Linked DNA regions of Homo sapiens: regions 1 and 3 are each linked to region 2. The links are contacts of gene promoters, found by promoter capture Hi-C in human tissues and cell types (Jung and others, 2019). All regions are on one chromosome and are shown on one strand. The core of a region is centred on a gene start or on the middle of the fragment in contact, and the rest is flanking DNA. Distances in the headings are between cores, read along the strand shown. Region 1 overlaps LOC105369710 (a long non-coding RNA gene). Region 2 holds the start of PTHLH (parathyroid hormone like hormone). Region 3 overlaps CCDC91 (coiled-coil domain containing 91).

The links. The method cuts DNA at HindIII sites, captures the fragments that hold promoters and counts their contacts. A contact is called where the count stands out against the background at its distance.
Region 1: a fragment that was not itself captured here is called in contact with the fragment with the promoter of PTHLH in region 2 in 2 of the 25 tissues and cell types used here (IMR-90 fibroblasts and adrenal gland).
Region 3: a fragment that was not itself captured here is called in contact with the fragment with the promoter of PTHLH in region 2 in 1 of the 25 tissues and cell types used here (bladder).

The regions. Positions count from the first base shown.
Region 1 is chr12:28,107,071-28,110,019 of GRCh38, reverse strand. It overlaps LOC105369710 (a long non-coding RNA gene), which reads left to right. Exons shown (of 3, transcript XR_931461.3): 2 at 2,862-2,914. Among named protein-coding and RNA genes, the nearest start is that of CCDC91, 82 kb to the left of the region's middle. The HindIII fragment of the contact is 5,405 bases long and covers 1-2,949 here.
Region 2 is chr12:27,971,400-27,974,189 of GRCh38, reverse strand. It overlaps PTHLH (parathyroid hormone like hormone), which reads left to right and starts at 1,457. Exons shown (of 6, transcript NM_198965.2): 1 at 1,457-1,667; 2 at 2,171-2,263. The HindIII fragment of the contact is 6,422 bases long and covers 1-2,790 here.
Region 3 is chr12:28,194,596-28,197,694 of GRCh38, reverse strand. The region is part of intron 1 of CCDC91 (coiled-coil domain containing 91); the gene reads right to left. Among named protein-coding and RNA genes, the nearest start is that of CCDC91, 5.7 kb to the right of the region's middle. The HindIII fragment of the contact is 6,310 bases long and covers 1-3,099 here.

The sequences.
Region 1 (2,949 bases), core at 388-2,887, 140 kb before region 2:
GTTTTCTAAATTATCACTTCTTAATATAGAACTATAGGTAAGAAAATTTTATATTTATATGTTCAATAAAATGTCACAATGAAAATTGTGAAAAGATTTTTTCTCTATGACAAGCAAAAACATGATAATGTATAATGTGCAGATGAAATGTCAATTCATTCCAATATATACACATTACTATAAAGATCATTATATAGAAGTTATGCTGTATTTGAAATTGGTAAGCTGATATAAAGAGGTATTATTTTGAAATAGCACATCAGCTAATGATGAAAAAATACCACATATATTTTCATACTAAAGAATGCAACTATTGGAAGTGTCTTTTCCCTTAGTCACTTAAGGAATTAAATATACTTAGGATAATAGGCAACTTTTAAAAAGAAAATGTTTATCAGTTTTGTAGGGGGAGGTCCAAGTTCACGACACATCACACTACATTTTATAGAAGTATAGGGTTTTATTAAACTTCCTGTTTCTGCTGGCTGCTTGCTTGCATAGCTGTGGAGGGCCATGTGATTGTAGCAAATGCTGGATGTAAATTTATATCTTTGGCATAAAATGAAAGATAAAATTATTGGAAATCTGAAAATGTTTTTGCTTGTATAAAAACTTGATCTTAAAAGTTACACTACACCACCTTAGAAAGGGAGAGGGACAGAATTAATGTCAATAGTCTAAATATTGGTTTGGGCTTCTAGCAAATTTTTCATGGGAGGCCATGGGGGTGTGATTAATGCTTCCCAAGAACACTTAGATATTCTCCATCAAGTAATCTGTGCTGGAAAGGATTGAATGCTAGGTCCCCAGATGATTAAAGCATATTGGCCCAAGGTAACATTAAAGCTAGAACTCAATAATTCTAGTTAAACTAGTAAAAATGAGAGATTTAAATTTATACCCAGATTTTGAAGAAAAAATAACTAATCAACAAATGCACACACGGAAAGTTTCCAACTACACATTTCCTACTAAATGAAAAATCCCATACCCAGATATTCATAGCTTCTAATTATTTTGTACTCAAACTTCCCAGGTATTTTTTCATTAGATACCCTTATTCTCTCACAAAAAGGTTGTAATAAGGTTGTTGCCACAGCTGCACCAATTCTCTCTTACCCTTCTCTGATTTTTGAGGGCAACTGGAAACCAATGTGGTTTGTTTTTGTACATAGTAACTTGGCCCAGGTCACAGGAATACCACAAAAGAGTCTGATAACAACACATTTGCACTCAGACTGCACATGTACAGATAAATACACATCCCAAAACTATTTTTTCACCCTCACCCACAGAGACAATATATCACTGCCGTTAGAGTCATCAACTGCTTCAGAACATGAAATGCCACTTTAAGACAGTGCCATGGAGCCATTCCAGGCATTCATTAAAGCTTTTTATTTTTTAAATTTTATTTTCTTTTAGATTCAAGGAGTACACACACGTTTGTTACATGGGTATATTGCATACTGGTGGGGATTGGGCTTGTAGTGCACCCATCACCCAAATAGTGAACATTGTACCCAATAGGTAGTTTTTCAATCCTTGGCCACCTCCCATCCTCCTCTCTTTCAGAGTCCCCAGTGTCTATTATTTCCATCATTATGTCCATGTGTACTCACTGTTTAGTTCACAATTACAAGTGAAAATATGCAGTATTTGGTTTTCTGTTTCTGTGTTCACTTAGGATAACGGCCTCTAGCTCCATTCTTGTTGCTGCAAAGGATATGATTTCATTATTTTTTATTGCTGAGTAGTATTTCATGGTGTATTAGGTACCACATTTTCTTTATCCAGTCAACCATTGATGGATACTTAAGTTGATTCCATAACTTTGCTCTTGTGGACAGTGCTGTGATGAACATGAGTGCAGGTGTCTGTTTTACATGTGATTCATTTTCCTTTGGGTAGATACCCAACCGTGGGATTGCTAGGTGCAATGATAGTTCTATTTTTAGTTCGTTGAGAAATCACTGTTTTCCATAGAGATTTAACTAATTTATATTCCCACTAACAGTGTATAAGTGTTCTTTTTTCTCTGCATCCAGGCCAACATCTGTTGCTTTTTGACTTTTTAATAATAGCCTTTCTGACTGGTGGAAGATGATATCTCATTGTGGTTTTAATTTGCATTTCTCTGATGATTAGTGATGTTGAGCATTTTTTCATGTGTTTGTTGGCTGCTTGTATTTCCTCTTTCAAGAAATGTCTGTTCATGTCCTTTGCCCAGTTTTTAACGGGGGTTGTTTGTGTTTTTTCTTGTGGAGTTGAGTTCCTTGTGTTATTAGTTCTTTGTCAGATGTATAGTTTGAATATATTTTTTCCAATTCTGTAGGTTGTTTAGTCTGTTGATTATTTCCTTTGCTGTGCAGTAACTTTTTTGTTTAACTAGGTCCCATTTGTCTATTTTTTTTTTGTTGCTATTGCTTTGGGGTCTTCATCATACATTTTTTTGTCTAGTCCAGTGTCCACAAGTTTTTACTAGATTTTCTTCTAGAATTTTTACAGTTTCCAGTCTTACATTTAAGTCTTTAATCCTTCTTAAGTTAATTTTTTGTATGTGGTGAGAGAGATAAGACTCTAGTTTCATTCTTCTACATATGGCTATCCAATTTTCCCAGCACTATTTATTGAATAGGGTGTCCTTTCTCCAGCGTTCACTAAAGCATTTTAAAATCATTGTTCCTTGAGAATTATCTATTTTACAATTGTGATTTCCTTATTCTTTTCAGGCCACTCTTAATCAGTCTAAATCTAACTAATATCCCTAGAAACCGTATTAAAAATGGTTGGCTTATTTTCAGTGTATATAAATACAATTATACAATTATTTTAATAATTTTATTGTGTACTTGTTTCAGACTCATTGCTCCAGCTGGAGAGTTGATTATGACACAATGCCTGCCTTGAAGAGGTAAGAATTTAGTTGGAGGCAAAGGTTAGAATAAG
Region 2 (2,790 bases), core at 208-2,707:
AGATCAGGACTGGGACACTGCACATTCATATTCTCTCTCTCTCTCTCTCTCTCTCTCTCTCACACACACACACACACACACACACACACACACACAGAGACATATCTGAAGAAGACTCTTCAGATATGTTTCAATTGTCAGGAGTTTGCGAGGTGCTCAAGTGCTTGACCTTTAAGAACCGGTTCTCAGAGACCCCCATTTCCTAAAGACCTTCTCATCTCACATTGGTTTGGGTTCCTCCCAGGAAACCGCCTCCTCTCTGGGCCTCCTGCTTCAGTTTGGGGGAAGCAGAACATTGCCCAGGAAGTAGGGAAGGGTGAGGAAGGGTGTGAGGCCCACTTTTCCCATGGGAGGATCCCATCAGCTTGATGCATATCTATACACTCCTCCCTGAGGCAGTTCCTCCAGAGGTTAGCAGCCCGCCCTGTTCCTGGAGAAGTCTTATCCTCACCTAACTACAAAAAGATTTAATAAAGAAACACACCCTTTCCTATTGTTACTTGGGGTTTGAAGGCATTACATCTTTTTTTCTTTTTTGCTACCTTGAGGTCAGCTGGCAACAGCCTCCTCTCAAGTCTCAGTCCAGGCGAGCGATGAGAGCCACATTCTAATGGAATCCAATGAGAGCATTACTTGAGCTGATTATGCAACGTCTCTTTGTAAACATTGAAAAAAGTTTGGAGAAGAGATGGGATGAGTTTAGTTGTTTGGTTCCAGGGGATTTTAGAGACATAGCTTGCAGCTACAGATTGGTAAATGTGAAATCTGGATGCTTATTGGTAATAAGAGAATTCCCAAGCCCAGGTGCACTGTTTAAAGTGCTATAGATTCATATTTGGTTTATAATGTATATCTGTTTGCTGTTTGGGTTAAGGAGGAAAGAAGAAAGAAGGATGAAGAGGCTAAGCATAAATGCTATTTACTTTTTTCTAAGCTATGACAGGAGATATACATTAACTGGGTATTCAACTGAATTTAAGAGTAATGCATTTAAAATTTTTTCAACCTCTTTTAAAATTTGATATACTGTAATAAACTGCCACTGGGGATGGGAAGATGGAAGCCTGGTGCTCATGGGCTAGGCATTTGTGTAGGTGTAGATCTTATAATGCTAAACATGGAAATACTTCAGATTAGAGGCAGGCCTTCCCATTTGCTAAGGTGCATTTACATGACAGCAAGGCCTAAGCAAACATTTAGCTTCTATTGGCACTTGTTCTATTTCTAAACCTTAGAAAAAAGGTGTGTGTGTGGGCTGGGGGGACGGGGGGGGGAGGGAGGTGGTAGGGGGTGCTCTTGCTGTGTCTCATTTGCAGTCATGCATCCTCTGCATTATTATGATGGAGATTACTCAGTTATGTTAGGAACTAGATTATGATGTCAGAAAATATCCTTTCCAAAACAGGCAAAAAGTCAGGGTCCTGGGTATATATTGAGGAGAATTTCTACGGAAAGTAATAAACAGGGCAGCTTGGAAGAGGTACCTGCTTTCTAATAATTGCCTTTAGTGGGAACAGAAGTCTCCTTTCAAGAAGCTTTTAATTCATTTTAAGATTTAATTTTATGTTTTCTGAAGAACAACAAAAAATATTTCTGGAAAAGACTGCTGAGAAGATTTCCCTCTTTCAGCCAGAAGAGCAGAGAGAAGATTGTAAATCAAGGAAAAGGTGAAGTAATAAATTAGGAGGGAACTTTGGTATTCCGAGTATATAAAGACTATTTATTTTTCCTGTGTCTATATTTTCTCTTTTTGTGGAGGAGAGGAAATTCTAAAAATATTTGATAGATGTTTTGCCATTAACACCAGAAAAGTGTGTGGGGAAAAAGAAAGGAGGGAAGGAGTGGGGGGTTAATTTTGTTTAATTAGTAGAAAAAGCAACATAAATCAAAGCAGTCTATTGATGCCAGTCCTTAATTTATAATGTTCTGAAAGTAAAGTGAATTTATTTACAACATAAGTGATTTGATAATTTCAATCTGATTTTTGTTTTAACCTTCTATTGGGAGAAGGGTTGACTTTTTAAAGCCTGGATAGTTTGAAACTTGGCTAGGTACCTTGGACTTTTTATTGTGGAAGCAAATATTATCATTTCAATGTTAAACAACTTGCAAGTATTAAATGGCTCATTTGTGATTGACTTTTTTTTTTTTTTTTTTTTTTTTTTTACAGATTTCCCCCTTCAGATCTAACGATTACATTAGGGCTCCTGCATCTTTTTGGAAGGATTCTTTTTATAAATCAGAAAGTGTTCGAGGTTCAAAGGTTGACATTTCTGAGTGCTGATACTTTGTCCTTTCATACTATCCAAACAAGTCTAACATTTAGAAATCCTTACACATTCAAGGGAAGTTGTGGAAATTCCCAGAGAGAGAGTGTGTGTGTGTGCGTGTGTGTGTTTTGGTTTTGTTTTGCTTTTTTTCTTTGTTAGTGAGAAGAAGCCGAGTCTTTTAAGGTACGGGGTTTACAGTAATGAACTGAGGAAGGCAGGAGCTTCTAAGAAAATATGCCCCCCCACCCAACCTAAGCAGTAAACTTTAACTGCTAGCTAGCTGCAGTGAACCAGTGGGAGCCCCGATGAGCGAGGGTCTCGGTGACAGCGTGCTATTTCTCCCACCCTGGGTAAAATATGTGGAGCATCACCCGGAAAGTCGGGCTTGATAAAGGCCACATTCCTTGAATCATCTCAAGAATCTAAATCACACTAGCCTTCTAGAAACTAATGAACCCTACCAGCAGGATTGCCTAGAAGACAAATATCCCTTGAATGGTTCCCAGTCCACTCGCGCTCT
Region 3 (3,099 bases), core at 160-2,659, 220 kb before region 2:
TAAACATAATATATACAAAATACCTAAAATAACATAATACTCATAGTATAGCCTACAAATAAAAGCACAGATTCAGGAAGACTTGTGAACAAACTCAAGCTCTACCACTTACTATTAATACAACCTTAGGTAAGTTTGCTCACTTGGAGACAGTTTCCTTTGTCTATGAAATGGAAAAAAATGTTACTACCAAAAAGTAGCAGTTGGAATTCAATAAAACAACATACATAAAGGGTTTTACATGAAGCTAGGCACAAAGATTTCTATAATTCTTATCAAAAGAAGAGCACAGGTGGTATATTACATTATACGTAATTCATCAGTAATTCTGTATAGATCAGTGGAAACAAAATAGTATAGGCAGAAAAGTTATTTAATGATTACAGACTCTAAACCGCTTAAAAAACGGTTTGAACTAGACCGATTTCTAAGGAACTCTGTTTCTGAAATTCAAAGATTCTACCTTAAGGTGATGCCCAAAAAGCCAATGATACTGACCCCAAATTTCTTACAATAAATAGCCTAAAGAACAAATTTCAAGAGCACCAAACAGAGGCAGTGGATATAAGAACCTGAAAAAAAAATGTATATACTTTGAGTGATAATCATATTTTTATAAATTACTTTGAAAAATTATCAGAGTTAAGCACAAATATTTAATGTTAATTTCAACAGGGAAAACTGAAATACAATTTTACTATTTAACAATAAGAAAATCATTAAATGATGGGCATATCCATATAACACAATAACCCATAACCATTACAAATCAAGTTTTCAAAATAATTCATGATGCAAGTACTCCCAATGTGATTCTGAGTGAAAAGGGCAAAATATAAAACAATATTAACAATTTTGTTTTTAAAATATATTTGCAAAAGAAAAGACTGAAAGAAAAGCCACCACAATGTTTGCAGCAGTTACCTCAGATTACTGAAAATAGGGTAACTTTTTTTATAGTCTTCCTTTATTTCCAACTTTCTACTGTAATCAACTATCATGTTCACAATCAAAAAAAGCAATATAACATTCACTTGTGATTAAATTTTAAAGCTCTAAGCAGGAGTTAAAGAGAACTTCCTTGGCTGGGTCAAAATGATATCCACAAAAAACTTACAGCTAACTACTCAATGGTAAAAGACTGTATACCTTCTCTACTAAGATGAAGAGCAATGCAAGGATATCTGTGCTGATCTGACTTGTTCTAGTTAACATTAGCAAAGGTCCTAGCCAGTGCAAAGAGACAAGAAAACAAAATAAAAGGCAAACAAATGAGAAAATGTGAAATAAAGCTGTCTCTACCAGCAGACAGCAGTAGCTACAAAAGCTACTAGAACGAACTCGTGAGTTTAACAAGGTTGTAAAATTCAAAAATTCAAGATCAATATTAAAATACTGATTCACTTACATAAGTAATTGGAAATTTAAAAATTTTTAAAGGTTACTGTTTACAACAGAACCAAACAACATAAAACATTTAGATACAAACATAACAAAATATGCGCAACATTTTTATGCGGAAAGCTTAAAAACAGAGAGAAATCAAAGACCAAATAAACGTAGAAAGGTTGTTTCATTTTGTTTTCTCTCTTGAAAGAGGCTCTCTCTGTTGCAGAGGCTAGAGTGCAGTGGCATGATCACAACTCACTGCAGCCTCTACCTCCCAGGCTCAATCAATCCTCCCACCTCAGCCTTCCAAGTATCAGGGACTACAGGTGCATGGCAACACACCCAGCTAATTTTTCTCATTTTTGTAGAGATGCGGTTTTGCCATGTTGTCCAAGCTGCTCTTGAACTCCTGGGCTCAAGCGATCCTCCCACCTTGACCTCCCAAAGTGCTGGGATTACAAGCATGAGCCATAGCAGTGGGACAGGAAAGGTATTTTATTAATGGATTAGAAAACAACATTTTTAAGATGTCAATTCTCCCCAAATGGATCCATAACTTCAATGCAATCATACTAAAAATTCCACAATGCTTTTATATAGAAATAAAGAGATTCTAAAATGTACATGGAAAGAAAAAGAACTCGAATACTCAAAAATTTTTGGCAAACAACAACAAAGTTGGAGGACTCAGGCTTTTTGACTTCAAGATACACTATAACGCTACCATAATAAGGACTGAGGTTTTAGCCAAACAGACGCACAGAACAATGGAACAAAATAGAGTCCACAAAGCAAACCACACAAACATACTCAACTGATTTTTAACAAGGCAAGCCAAAGAAATTTAATGAAGAAAAGATAGTAATGAGAGGTGAAGCCGGCTGGACTTCCGGGTCAGGTGGGGACTTGGAGAACTTTTCTATCTAGCTAAAGGATTGTAAATGCACCAATCAGAGTCTGTGTCTAGCTAACAGTTTGTAAACGCACCAATCAGCACTCTGTGTCTAGCTAATCGGGTAGGGGACTTGGAGAACTTTTCTGTGTAGCTAAAGGATTGTAAATGCACCAATCAGCGCTCTGTGTCTAGCTAAAGGTTTGTAAATGCACCAATCAACACTCTGGCAAAACGGACCAATCAGCACTCTGTAAAACGGACCAATCAGCACTCTGTAAAATGGACCAATCAGCTCTCTGTAAATGGACCAATCTGCAGGATGTGAGTGGGGCCAAATAAGGGAATAAAAGCAGGCCACCCGAGCCAGCAGCAGCAACCCCTTCGGGTCCCCTTCCATGCTGTGGAAGCTTTGTTCTTTCACTGTTCGCAATAAATCTTGCTGCTGCTCACTCTTTGGGTCCGCACTATCTTTATGAGCTGTAACACTCACAGTGAAGGTATGCAGCTTCACTCCTGAAGCCAGCGAGACCACGAACCCACCAGGAAGAACGAACAACTCCGGACACGCCACCTTTACGAGCTATAACAATGAGCTGCAACACCCACCACAAAGGTCTACAGCTTCACTCCTGAGGCCAGCGAGACCACAAACCCACTGGGAGGAACAAACAACTCAGGACACGCCACCTCTATGAGCTGTAACACTCACCGCAAAGGTCTGCAGCTTCACTCCTGAAGCCAGCAAGGCCACAAACCCACCAGGAGGAATGAACAATTTCGGATGCAGCTTCACTCCTGAAGCCAGCAAGGCCACA